Regions from separate parts of the Homo sapiens genome. Here all the other regions are linked to region 2. Evidence: promoter capture Hi-C in human tissues and cell types (Jung and others, 2019). All regions are on one chromosome and are shown on one strand. Each heading gives the region's core, a stretch centred on a gene start or on the middle of the fragment in contact. The rest is flanking DNA. Distances are from core to core; before and after follow the strand shown.

Region 1 (2,700 bases), core at 50-2,549, 140 kb after region 2:
CACCATCCCTGGCTAATTGTTTAATAGAGATGGGCTCTTGCTGTGTTGCCAAGGCTGGTCTCAAACTCCTGGGCTCAGATGATCCTCCTGCCTTGGCTACCCAAAGTGTTGGAATTTCAGGCATGAGCCACTCTGCCTGGCTCTTGTATAGGATTTTTGCCATTAATGCATAACCTCAATCTACTCATGAGAAAACATCAGACCCAAATTGAGGGACATTTCTCAAAATAATCAGCCAGAGTGTTTCTCAAACATGTCAAGGTTATGAAAAACAAGAATGGTTTAGGAAGTATTACAGATTGGGTGAGACTAACACTGAATGCAGTGTAGAATCCTCAGTTGGATTCTGGCCATAAAAAGGGTATTACTGGTAAAATTGGCAAAATAGGGCCTATAATTAGTTAATGGTATTGGTATTGTATGTATTACGTAGTTACCTAATTTTGATCATTGTACTATGGTTATATAAGCTGTATTAATAATAGGGGAAGATGAGTAAAGGGCATATGGGGATGCTCTGCAGCTTTTCTCAAAGTATGAAAGTATCTGAAAATGTAAACAAAGTAGAAATTTGCTTTTTTATTTCTTACTAAGGTATCTTTAAATATATGAAGTGATATGTTAATTAGCTTATAACCATTTCATAGTGCATACATATATCAAAACATGTCATACATTAACTCTATATAATTTTTGTCTGTTAAACCCTAATAAAAAAGAATAAAAGATAAAAGTTTATAAAGATACTGATTGACCAAGTGGGAAGAGAAAGAATATGACTGTTAGCTCAGCAAAGCATAACAAATCTGAGTCCACAAGGAAAGTATTATATTTACTTCTTGGTGAAGTAAAGCAATTTGCTTCTAGCAAAATGATCTGTTTATGGCCTCTCTGTAGCACTTTACCAGTAGCAGCTGACACGATGAGAGGTTCCAATGGATTAGAATGGCTGTTTTGAAGCTAGAGTTTGTTGCATACTTTCTCAAGCAAAGATCTTACAGTTCCTTGGCATAAGGGCTCAGGGTATGAGTCATTCAGCTCTCCTGGAATGTGTCCTGGATAGTGTCAAGCCATTCCAAACAGCAGAAAACATCCTCCTTTATTCCTTTTCACTCTGGTTGGGAAAGCTATCCCCTGAAGCACCATCTGGAAAGCTTGCACTCTGCAGTGGAAAGGGCATAGTTTCCCAAACTGTGTACTCGGGGAGCTGTGTGCTATTTAAATTTTTAAGAGAAGCACAGCAATATTCAACATCTGTTGGCTACTGTGTGAACTACTAGGTTAAGGCTGTTCAGTTTCAGTATTAAATCATACTGTGTTCCTTCGATGACATCCACGGGAAGTTTAGAATATGCTCACAAAAAGGAGTAAAAAAGAATATGCTCACAAATTCTTTGCTATTTCTCCCTGCAAAGGTGGATTCAAATTCTCCTCTTCAGTATAGGCTGATTCACCTCTAATGAATGGAGTGTGGTAGAAGTGGCAGCATGTGACTTGAGAGATGGCTTCATCGAAGGCACTGTGGCTTCTTCCTAGCTCTCTCTTTTGGATTGCTCATTTTGGGGGAACGTTAGCGGCCATGTCATGAGGACACTCAAACAGCCTTGTGGCCTCCTGCCAGCAGCTGAGTCCCATGCCCAAAGATTCTCTCAGAGCTCAAAATAATCTATTTTATCTGCGGTTATATTCTTTACTTAATCCTCATACTGCTTTTGGGTTTTTCTCACCAATCTTTGGTTATGTTAAGTTTGTGTTTGTGTTGGCTTATTGCAGATTTGGTTTAGGTTCATTGTTCTTTTAATTTTTATTTATATTTAGCCAATTCAATAATTTCTTTTTATCTGTATTAAATCTTTCTTTGAAATTCCTTTGAATTATTTTTTCTTTTTGAGTTGAATTACTATCTTTTATCTCATTTTCTTTTTTTTTTTTGAGACAGAGCCTCACTCTGTCACCCAGGCTGGAGTGCAGTGGTGTGATCTCAGCTCACTGCAACCTCCACCTCCTGGGCTCAAGTGATTCTCCTGCTTCAGCCTCCTGAGTAGCTGGGATTACAGGTGCCCGCCACCACGCCTGGCTAATTTTTGTATTTTTAGTAGAGATGGGGTTTTGCCACGTTGGCCATGCCGGTCTTGAACTCCTGACCTCAGGTGATCCACCCACTGCGGCCCCCCAAAGTGCTGGGATCACAGGTGTGAGCCACCATGCCTGGCCTCATTTTCTAATAAGGTTAAGACTATGACTTTTTTTTATAGTATGAATCTGACTACATTGCAAATATTTTGGTAGGTACTGTTTTCATTGTGATCAATTTCTAAATAGTCTATTGTAATAATAGCAAGTTTTTACATAGCAGTTACTATGTGGTGGTGGTGTTTTGAGTGCTTTATTATGTATTAACTCCACACAGTTAGCAAGGATTGGAGCCGGGATTTGAACCCTAGGTAGTTTGGCTGCAGAATTCGTGCCATTAACCACAGTGCCGTGCTGCCTGTCAGTTTGGTTTCTTTTTCCTCCAAATTGAGGTGTAATGGAAGTACAGTAAACTGCCCACATTAAAAGTGTGCAATTGGATAAGTTTTGACATACGAATACACCTGTGAAGCCACTGCCACAATCAACATAAACATTTCTATCCTTGCTGGGTGTGGTGGCTCACGCCTGTAATTCCAGCACTTTGGGAGGCCAAGTTGGGTGGAT
Region 2 (2,700 bases), core at 26-2,525:
AGAGGCAGAGGTTGCAGTGGGCCAAGATCACGCCACTGCACTCCAGCCTGGGCGACAGAACAAGGCTGTCTCAAAAAATAAATAAATAAATAAATAAAATAAAAAAGAAAGAAACTAGGAATAGAAGTAAATTTCCTTGATTTGGTAAAGTGAAATATCAAAATGGTCCCTTTGGTCTATTTGATAGGGGGCAGTGGTTCACACTTGTAATGCTAACACTTTGGGAGGCCGAGTTGGAAGGACTGCTTGAACCCAGGAGTTTGAGACCAGCCTGGGCAACACAGAGAGACCTCTGGCCCCCCCCTCCTTTTTTTTTTTTTTTGTGAGACGGAGTCTCTCTCTGTCGGCCATGCTGGAGTGCAGTGGCACCATCTCGGCTCACTGCAATCTCTGCCTCCTAGGTTCAAGCAATTCTCCTTTCTCAGCCTCCCTGGTAGCTGGGAGTACAGGCGCCTGCCACCAGGCTGGGCTAATTTTTGTATTTTTAGTAGAGACCAGGTTTCACCATGTTGGCCAGGATGGTCTCGAACTCGTGACCTCAGGTGATCTGCCCACCTCGGCCTCTCAAAGTGCTGGGATTACAAGCATGAGCCACCGCGCCCCGTCAAACCCCCCGATCTCTATAAAGCAAATAAAAAAATAGCAGGGCATGGTGGTGTGTACCTGTAATCCCAGATACTAAGGAGACTCAGATGGGAGGATCCCTTAAGCCCAGGAGTTCCAAGCTGCAGTGAGCTATGATCACTGCACTCCAGCCTGGGCGACAGAGAGAATTGCCGTCCATAAATGATAATAATAACAGGGCCGGTCTCGGTGGCTCAATAATAATAGGGCCGGACGCGGTGGCTTTTTTTGTGCACTCTTCATGTAAAGTGAGTTATCATCATATATTGCCTCTATTTTGATGTTTGGTTAAAATGGGGCACACCAGTACTAACTTCGGCTTTCTAACAATTCCTACTTCGCACACCATGTGGCAGTGTTAGATGGCTTTTGGGCGCTCGCCAAGGACTAGACATCTACCACTTCTTCTGGCCTCTTCGCTCCTATATCCACTGCTTCAATCCAGAGGCTGTATTTGACCCTCTGCGACCTCTTTGTCATGGCGTCCGCGGGGCGTCTACCAGCGGAGGCTTGGGCTGGCAGCCGGGCGTCGACCTTCCCAAAATGGCGGCGGACGGGACAACTGCGCTCAAGGGGCGGGGTTCCGCCGCCGGGGGCGGGGCGGGAGGCCGAGGGGTCGGGCTAGCGGGCGGGACGCTTCCCAAGTCGGCAGTCTCAGCGCGCCTGCGCCGAGCGGCCCTGCGCGCAGTGAGGCAGTGGCGGGGGAAGGCACCGGTGGGGCCGACGGGCGGGTTGAAGGAGGGAAGCGGGCGAGCGAAGTCCCAGTGCGCGCCGCGGCAGCCCGGGCACCCTCCCCTTCCGGGCGTGAGTCGCTGTGAAAAGAGCTGAAGCGAGCGGACTCGCACCGGCAGCGAGGCGCCGCTCCCGCCGCCTCAGCCCGGCCTTCCTCGGCTCCGGCGCTCCGGTCGCGGGGCCCGGGTTCCTCGGCACACCCCGCTCCAGCCGCCCCCAGAGCCTGTCCCCAGCCCTTCGGAAGCCCCGGCGCCAGCCCGGGCCCTCGGCAGGGAGGATGACGGAGCTGCAGTCGGCACTGCTACTGCGAAGACAGCTGGCAGGTGAGCAGGCGGGCGGCGGGGCGCCGGGCCCGGCCGCGATCGCGGACAGCCGCAGCCCAGTCCCTCTTCTCCTCCCGGGCCAGCGGCCGTACTGCCGAAGGGGCCCGGGCCTGCGAGGGTGGGGACCTCGAGGCTCCGGTCCCGGCCGGGCCCAGCCGTTCTCGCCCGGCTCTTGGAGGGCACTGGGGGCGGGGACGCGACCCAGCTCCGGCCCAGGGACTGGGCCTGGCGCCCGGGGGGTCGGAGAGGAGGAGGTCCCCTCCCCCACCGTTCTGTAGGACGTTGCGGGGGAGGGGCTGTGTGCGGGTCCCCAGGCCGGGGCCGCCAGCTTGGAGGGGCGGGTCCCGGGTTCAGGTGCTGCCGGGGCCGCCGGACCTTCGGGGCCGGCTGGAGCGTCCGGACCCAGTGCGGCTGCGAGTCCCCGGCTCGGTGTCTGAGGGCGGGCGGAAGGGACCGGCCCTGGCGGGATAGGTGAGGCGCACAAAACTTCTCCCCGGGCGGCGCTGGGTCCGCGGAGTTGGGGCCGACAACAAAAGCGCTGGCCTCGGCGGCCTCCACGCGGGCGCGAGGGTGCCGGAGACCCTGGCGGAGTGCGGATCGCCGCCTCGCCTGCCTCCGCCTGGCACGGGCTCCGGCTGCGCCGCCCGGCTGGGGGAGGGTAGGAGCGGGCCGCGGGGAGAGCCGCTCGCTGGCCGGCTCCGGGCTTTGTGCTCGCCGCGATTCCGGCTGCTGCGCAGGCCTGCAAACCCCGGAGCTGCGCCCGCAGGCTCTGGCCCGGGGCGGCGGCCGGGTCGGCCTCCCCGAGGAGCCTGCGGCCCCCCTCCCCCATTGTCCCGGCCTCCGGCCGTTTGCGGCTTCCAGGTTGACTTTTTAGGGGGTTGGCTCCTACTCTGCTAGGACTGTGTGCGCGGAGCATGCGCAGTGGAGACGTCCGTGTGCGGAGTGGAAGGGGGGAGGCGGGTTGGTGGCTTCACAATGCAGCCCCACGTGCTGCCAGATTTAAAGAGAAATGAACCAGCAC
Region 3 (2,700 bases), core at 201-2,700, 130 kb before region 2:
CAAAGGCCCAATGATCAATCAACTCACAAACGGGCAAACAGACCTAAACACACGCTGAGACTGGCCCAAGGTCACACACCAAGCACATTAGGAGCAAAGCTGGGGCTAGAACCCAGTTGTTCTATCGATCCCAATCCCGTCCCCAAGGCTGATTCCCAGAGATGCTCCCTGAGGATGAGGCTCCACGTCTCTAGCTCCAGAGGCCTGCGCCCTACCCTACACCCCAAGCACCATAGAGCAGGGGGAGGCGTCTCCAGGCCTCTGTACAGGGCCAGCTGCAAACCGCAGCCTGGGTCCCCAGGCGCCGCGGACCCGCCCCGCCCCTCCCTCCGCTCCCCGCAGCCCGGAGCCTTTGTCAGCCACGCGCTCACACACAACCGCGCCGCCACGCGCACACACACCCGGTCTCCCTAGCGCACACCCGCAAGGGGCGCGCGCACTCGCCGCACGCACGCAGGGGGGTGGAGGCGGCGGAGAAAGGAAGGAACTGACGGGCCATGGACGGACAGACGACCTGGGCTGGGGGAAGGGAAGGGAAGGAGGCCCGGGAACCGGCAGCTGGGGTCGGAGGGGGCGCAGAGACAAGGAGACAGAGAGACGCAGAGGAGACTCTTGGAGAGGAGGACAACGGATGGGCCGTCAAGGGCTGGAGAGGACGCGCGGGCTGCTCCAGGGGTGGGGACTCCTCTATCCCTTGGCCCCGGGTGTGTATGAGCGGGGAGCTGGATTGTACCCGTGGTGCACGGAGGCATCCCTTGCCCAGTTGTGCCTGAGCAGAGGGTCCGTAGGGACCTCACGTAGGGCCTGGAGATAGCAGGCCTGAGACCAAAAGCTCTCTGGGGTACCTCCCTCGAGGCGGGTGGTGGGATGGGGTGGGGTCTTGGTCCTCGGGCTGGGTGGGGCACTCGCTCACCTGCCACGGTGTACCTGTCCAGGTAGTTGAGCACGTTGCCCAAGCTGAGGATGGCGGCGGCTGCCCCCCGCCCGCGGCCCAAGCTGGCCGGTTTGGGCTGCTGAGCGCCGGGGCCCTTTGCAGTAGCTGCGCAGCCGGGGGTGCCGGGGGTGCCGGGGGGTCCGGTCGGGGCCCGCCTTACGCTGCCCGACAGCGTCTGCACCTCATCGCCCGCGGCCGAGACTCCAGCGCCGCCCGCGCCCCGCGCCCCGCAGCAACCGCTACCGCCAGCCCCTCGCTGCGCCCCCCGGCGCCGGCGCCGCCGCTCCGCGTCCGCCTCCTCCTCCTCCGCGCCGCCCGCCGCCGCCGAGGCGCATTCCAGGCACATCATGCCGGCCCGGATCGGGGCGGCGGGGGGCGCGGGGGGCGCGGGGCCCAGGCTGGGCCCGCTCAGCGCGTGCGTGCGCCGCGGAGCCGCCACTGCACCATCCTGGTCGGGCCCCGTCGGCTCCTGCGCTCCGGCCCCGGCTGCGGCGCTGCCACCGCTCAGCTCGCTGCGCCTCGTTCGCCGCCGCGGCTCTGACAGCTGCGGCCCGGCCCCGCCCACCAGGCCCGCGCCCAATCAGCTCCGGGCTCGGGCCACAGCCCCGCCCCGCACGTGCTGCCCTGGGGGTGGGGGGCCCGGGGACTGGGGGCCCGGGCGGCAGAGCCCCTCCTGCCAATGGGGGCGCAGTCACGCCGGGGCCGACCGGCCGCGAACGCCCGCGGGGAGCGGGAGAGGGTTTGCTCTGGCTACGGAGCTGGGAGCAGGGTGCTGGTGACGGGGCTCCCAGCACCTACTCAGTACCCTTCACCCAACCCCTGCCTCGGGCGTGGACTCCCGGCGGAGGCTCTGGGAGCCGGGCTGAGGGCTTGAGCCTAGCGTATCTGGGAGAACTGGAGAGAGGAGTCTCAGATGGCTAAAGTCAGGGGCGCCAGTTGGAGAGCCGGTGGCTCCTCCGATACTCACACGCCCGGATTTAACCAGTTCAGGGAGGGCCCAGAACCTAGACCTCCACCAGTCATGGTGGGCTGTGTCTCCCACCTCCCCAGGGCAACCCAGATCCAGCCCCCAACCTACCCCGGGCCCATTCCTGTGTGGGCACCCGGACCCTACCCTTGCCCCACAGAGTGGCCCGCAGCCCCTGGCGGGGAGAGCAAGGGCTGTGATTGGGGCCCAACAGAAACAGGATATTCAGAAGGGGCTTTCCCTCCTGAGGGACCACATCTCCAAGCTTCAGACTTCCAGGTATGTGCTAGAGAGGGTACAAAGCCCCCAGTGGCAGACAGGAGGCTGGGTCCTAGCTCAGCTCTGCCCTGGTGTGTGGCATGATCCTGAACATGACACCCACTCTCTGGGCCTCCATTTCTGTATCTGGGGGCAGATGGCAGGATGGGATTCAGTCTGGAAATCCACGGGTGGTCACCTCCCCTTGGTGGGACGGGGCGGGGGTCTGCCTCCTATGGAGAGTGGTTGGGGTGCTTCTGTGTTCCTGACATCCCATCACGGTTTCACCCCTCCTTAGAGGTGCTGTGGCTCTGTGACGATCTCCCCCTTCCCTCCCCCATTCACCTGTTTGGGGAATTAAAATCGAAATTAAAATCCTGTATAAAGTGCAGAGGACAGAATGTTAGAACTGGACAAACCCTCGGAAACCAGTTAATCATTCCCTGTGTTTCACAGACAAGTCCCAGGGCACGGACGTGACCCATTACGAACAGGCAGTGAAGCTGTGGCAGGGCTGGAGCTGCCCCAGGCTCTGGCATCA
Region 4 (2,700 bases), core at 2-2,501, 160 kb after region 2:
CCCATCTGTTAAGATTGGGAATTATCTGCTAGCTAGTTATGGTTAACAGTACTGAAATCCACTAATGTGGATTATTAAAATTAAGTGATTTCCTTTTGTGATTTTTCCTTAGTAAAGGAATTTCAGGTTTTAGAGACGAGAACGGCTAGTAGAGGGACCTCAAACTTCCGAGCATATTTACTACATACCTCAAGCTGTGCTGAGTGTAACTAGTTCTCCTCCATCTTGACAAACACACAAGTATTCCTCAAATATCTGAAGTAGAGTAACATCTTTATTTTATAGAGGAGGAGAGAGGGGCACAGAGAGCTCAAGTAATTTGGCCCCTAAAATGTAATGGGTCTCCACTCAGGTCTTTTTTACCTCATTGTTTATCTTGCTCTGTCCACCACATTCTGCCTTTGTGGTTAGAAAAGAGTTTTGGTGGAGGCTGCTGGCAGGGAAAACAATGGTGGATGTCAGGAAATCTCGTGAAACCATACTAGTCGTCTGTGACTGCCCTTGGAGGTGAACCTGATTTGGAGGGAGCAGTGGAGGCGAGGGAGGTGAAGGGCTGTTCCCTGGCCACCTTTTCCCCATGGGCCTGGTCTCATGGGAGACTCCCTAAGGCTTCCAGGAATTCTGGCATAGAGGAAGTGTGGTCTTTCCAATGCCATATCTTCCAGACTACAATGTGGTCCTGCTTTTGCTACCAGAGACCTATTTGCCTGCCTTCAGCTCTCTCTTCTCTGATGTAGTTGATGTTTTTTGTTTGTTTGTTTGTTTGTTTTTGTTTTGTTTTTTTTTTGAGACAGAGTCTCTGTCTGTCATCTAGGCAGGCGTACAGTGGTGCGATCACGGTTCACCGCAGCCTTGAACTCCTGGGCTCTTACCGCAGCCTTGAACTCCTGGGCTCTTACTTCAGCCTCCTGAGTAGCTGGGACTACAGGCACATGCTACCATGCCTGCCTAATTTCTCAATTGTTTTGGTAGAGACAGGGTCTTGCTGTGTTGCCCAGGCTGGTCTTGAACTCGTGGCCACAAGTACTCCTCCTGCCTTGGCCTCCCAGAGTGCTGGGATTACAGGTGTGAGCCTTTGCACCTGGCCGTGTTTCCTTATTAATGATTCTGAAAGAGTCTTGTTTTTATTATTATGCGGCTTTATGAGGACATCCATTGTAGCCAGTTTTTCTCTATTTTGGTGTACTGTGGTTTTGTTGTTACAGTAGAAATCTGATTTTTTTGGTGTGGGGGGTGTACTATGATTTGGCTATTTTTTCTAATTTTTTTTTTTTTTTGAGACGAGTCTTGCTCTGTCACCCAGGCTTGAGTGCAGTGGCACCGTCTCAGCTCACTGCAACCTCTGCCTCCCGGGTTCACGTGATTCTTGTGCCTCAGCCTCCCCAGTATCTGGGACTACAGGCAGCCCAGCTAATTTGTTTTTGTATTTGTAGTAAAGACGGGGTTTCGCTATGTTGCCCAGGCTGGTCACGACCTCCTGAGCTCAGGCAATCTGCCCGCCTTGGCTTCTGAAAGAGCTAGGATTATAGGTGTGAGCCACCACACCTGGCTGATTTGGCTGTTTTTTTCAAAACATTATAGATATTTTAGGTGAGTTTTTTCTTTTTTCTTTTTTTCTTTTTATTTTTTTTGTTGTTGTTGTTGATGGAGTCTCACTCCGCTGCCCAGGCTGGAGTGCAGTGGCGTAATCTCGGCTCACTGCAATCTCCGCCTCCTGGGTTCAAGCAATTCTCCTGTCTCAGCCTCCTGAGTAGCTGGGACTACAGGCGCCTGCCACCATGCCCGGCTAATTTTTGTATTTTTAGTAGAGACAGGGTTTCACCTTGTTGGTAAGGCTGGTCTCGAGCTCCTGACCTCAGTAGATCCTAGGTGGGGCTTTTAAAATACAGCTTTATTGAGTTATAATTCACATATCATACACATTCATCTTATAGGAGAGCTTTTTTTTTTTTTTTTTTTTTTTTGCGACAGAGTTTTGCCTTTGTCGCCCAGGCCGGAGTGCAATGGCACGATCTCAGCTCACTGCAACCTCCGCCTCCTGGGTTCAAGCGATTCTCCTGCCTCAGCCTCCCGAGTAGCTTGGATTACAGGCATGCGCCACCACAGCCGGCTAATTTTGTATTTTTAGTAGAGATGGGGTTCCTCCATGTTGGTCAGGCTGGTCTCGAACTCCCGACCTCAGGTGATCCACCCACCTCGGCCTCCCAAAGCGCTGGGATTACAGGCGTGAGCCACTGCACCCAGCCGGGAGAGCTTTTAAGGAGGTGTTAATTATTGAGCATAGAGCCTCGTATTTGAAACTATTTCTAAGACACACTGTTTGCATCATGCAGTTGTGGGAACTAAAGTGGTGTTCCACACAGTTAAATTTTCTTTGAAGGACAGAGGTTGATCCATTTTGTGCTTGATTCGACAATTACCTGTCTGTGTGATCAGCGGGTGTCGTATGTGTGCTGTTAAGGCAGTTGGGGTATTATGCTTAATCAGTTTATTTGCATGTTATTTTGATTCTGACCAGAATGGAGCAATGAAATATTATAATGAAATTCTAGTACTTTTTAAATATGGGAGACCAACTGTAATTTATTCATAACCCTTTGCTTAACCTTATCCCATAGTGTTATTAATAGGACATAGCCAGCCAGTACAAAGATGATCGCTTTGGTTTGTTCGTTTGTGAATTATTTGTCCAGTAATACT

Evidence for each region. The method cuts DNA at HindIII sites, captures the fragments that hold promoters and counts their contacts. A contact is called where the count stands out against the background at its distance.
Region 1: a fragment that was not itself captured here is called in contact with the fragment with the promoter of UBE2G1 in region 2 in 1 of the 25 tissues and cell types used here (H1 embryonic stem cells).
Region 3: a contact is called between the fragment with the promoter of SPNS2 here and the fragment with the promoter of UBE2G1 in region 2, in 1 of the 25 tissues and cell types used here (psoas muscle).
Region 4: a contact is called between a fragment that was not itself captured here and the fragment with the promoter of UBE2G1 in region 2, in 1 of the 25 tissues and cell types used here (dorsolateral prefrontal cortex).

The regions. Positions count from the first base shown.
Region 1 is chr17:4,228,656-4,231,355 of GRCh38, reverse strand. The region is part of intron 3 of ANKFY1 (ankyrin repeat and FYVE domain containing 1); the gene reads left to right. Among named protein-coding and RNA genes, the nearest start is that of ANKFY1, 34 kb to the left of the region's middle. The HindIII fragment of the contact is 6,569 bases long and covers 1-2,700 here.
Region 2 is chr17:4,365,250-4,367,949 of GRCh38, reverse strand. It overlaps UBE2G1 (ubiquitin conjugating enzyme E2 G1), which reads left to right and starts at 1,275. Exons shown (of 6, transcript NM_003342.5): 1 at 1,275-1,679. The coding sequence starts at 1,634. RefSeq lists enhancers at 1,142-1,436, 1,256-1,942 and silencers at 1,105-1,804, 1,855-2,634. The HindIII fragment of the contact is 21,131 bases long and covers 1-2,700 here.
Region 3 is chr17:4,497,631-4,500,330 of GRCh38, reverse strand. SPNS2 (SPNS lysolipid transporter 2, sphingosine-1-phosphate) reads right to left here and starts at 1,450. Exons shown (of 13, transcript NM_001124758.3): 1 at 914-1,450. The coding sequence starts at 1,283. SPNS2-AS1 (SPNS2 antisense RNA 1) reads left to right here and starts at 1,596. Exons shown (of 3, transcript XR_001752763.2): 1 at 1,596-2,180; 2 at 2,616-2,700. RefSeq lists enhancers at 16-650, 651-1,286 and silencers at 1,328-1,377, 1,438-1,587, 1,598-1,657. The HindIII fragment of the contact is 11,191 bases long and covers 1-2,472 here.
Region 4 is chr17:4,209,973-4,212,672 of GRCh38, reverse strand. All of the region lies in intron 4 of ANKFY1 (ankyrin repeat and FYVE domain containing 1), which reads left to right. Among named protein-coding and RNA genes, the nearest start is that of ANKFY1, 53 kb to the left of the region's middle. The HindIII fragment of the contact is 4,377 bases long and covers 1-2,700 here.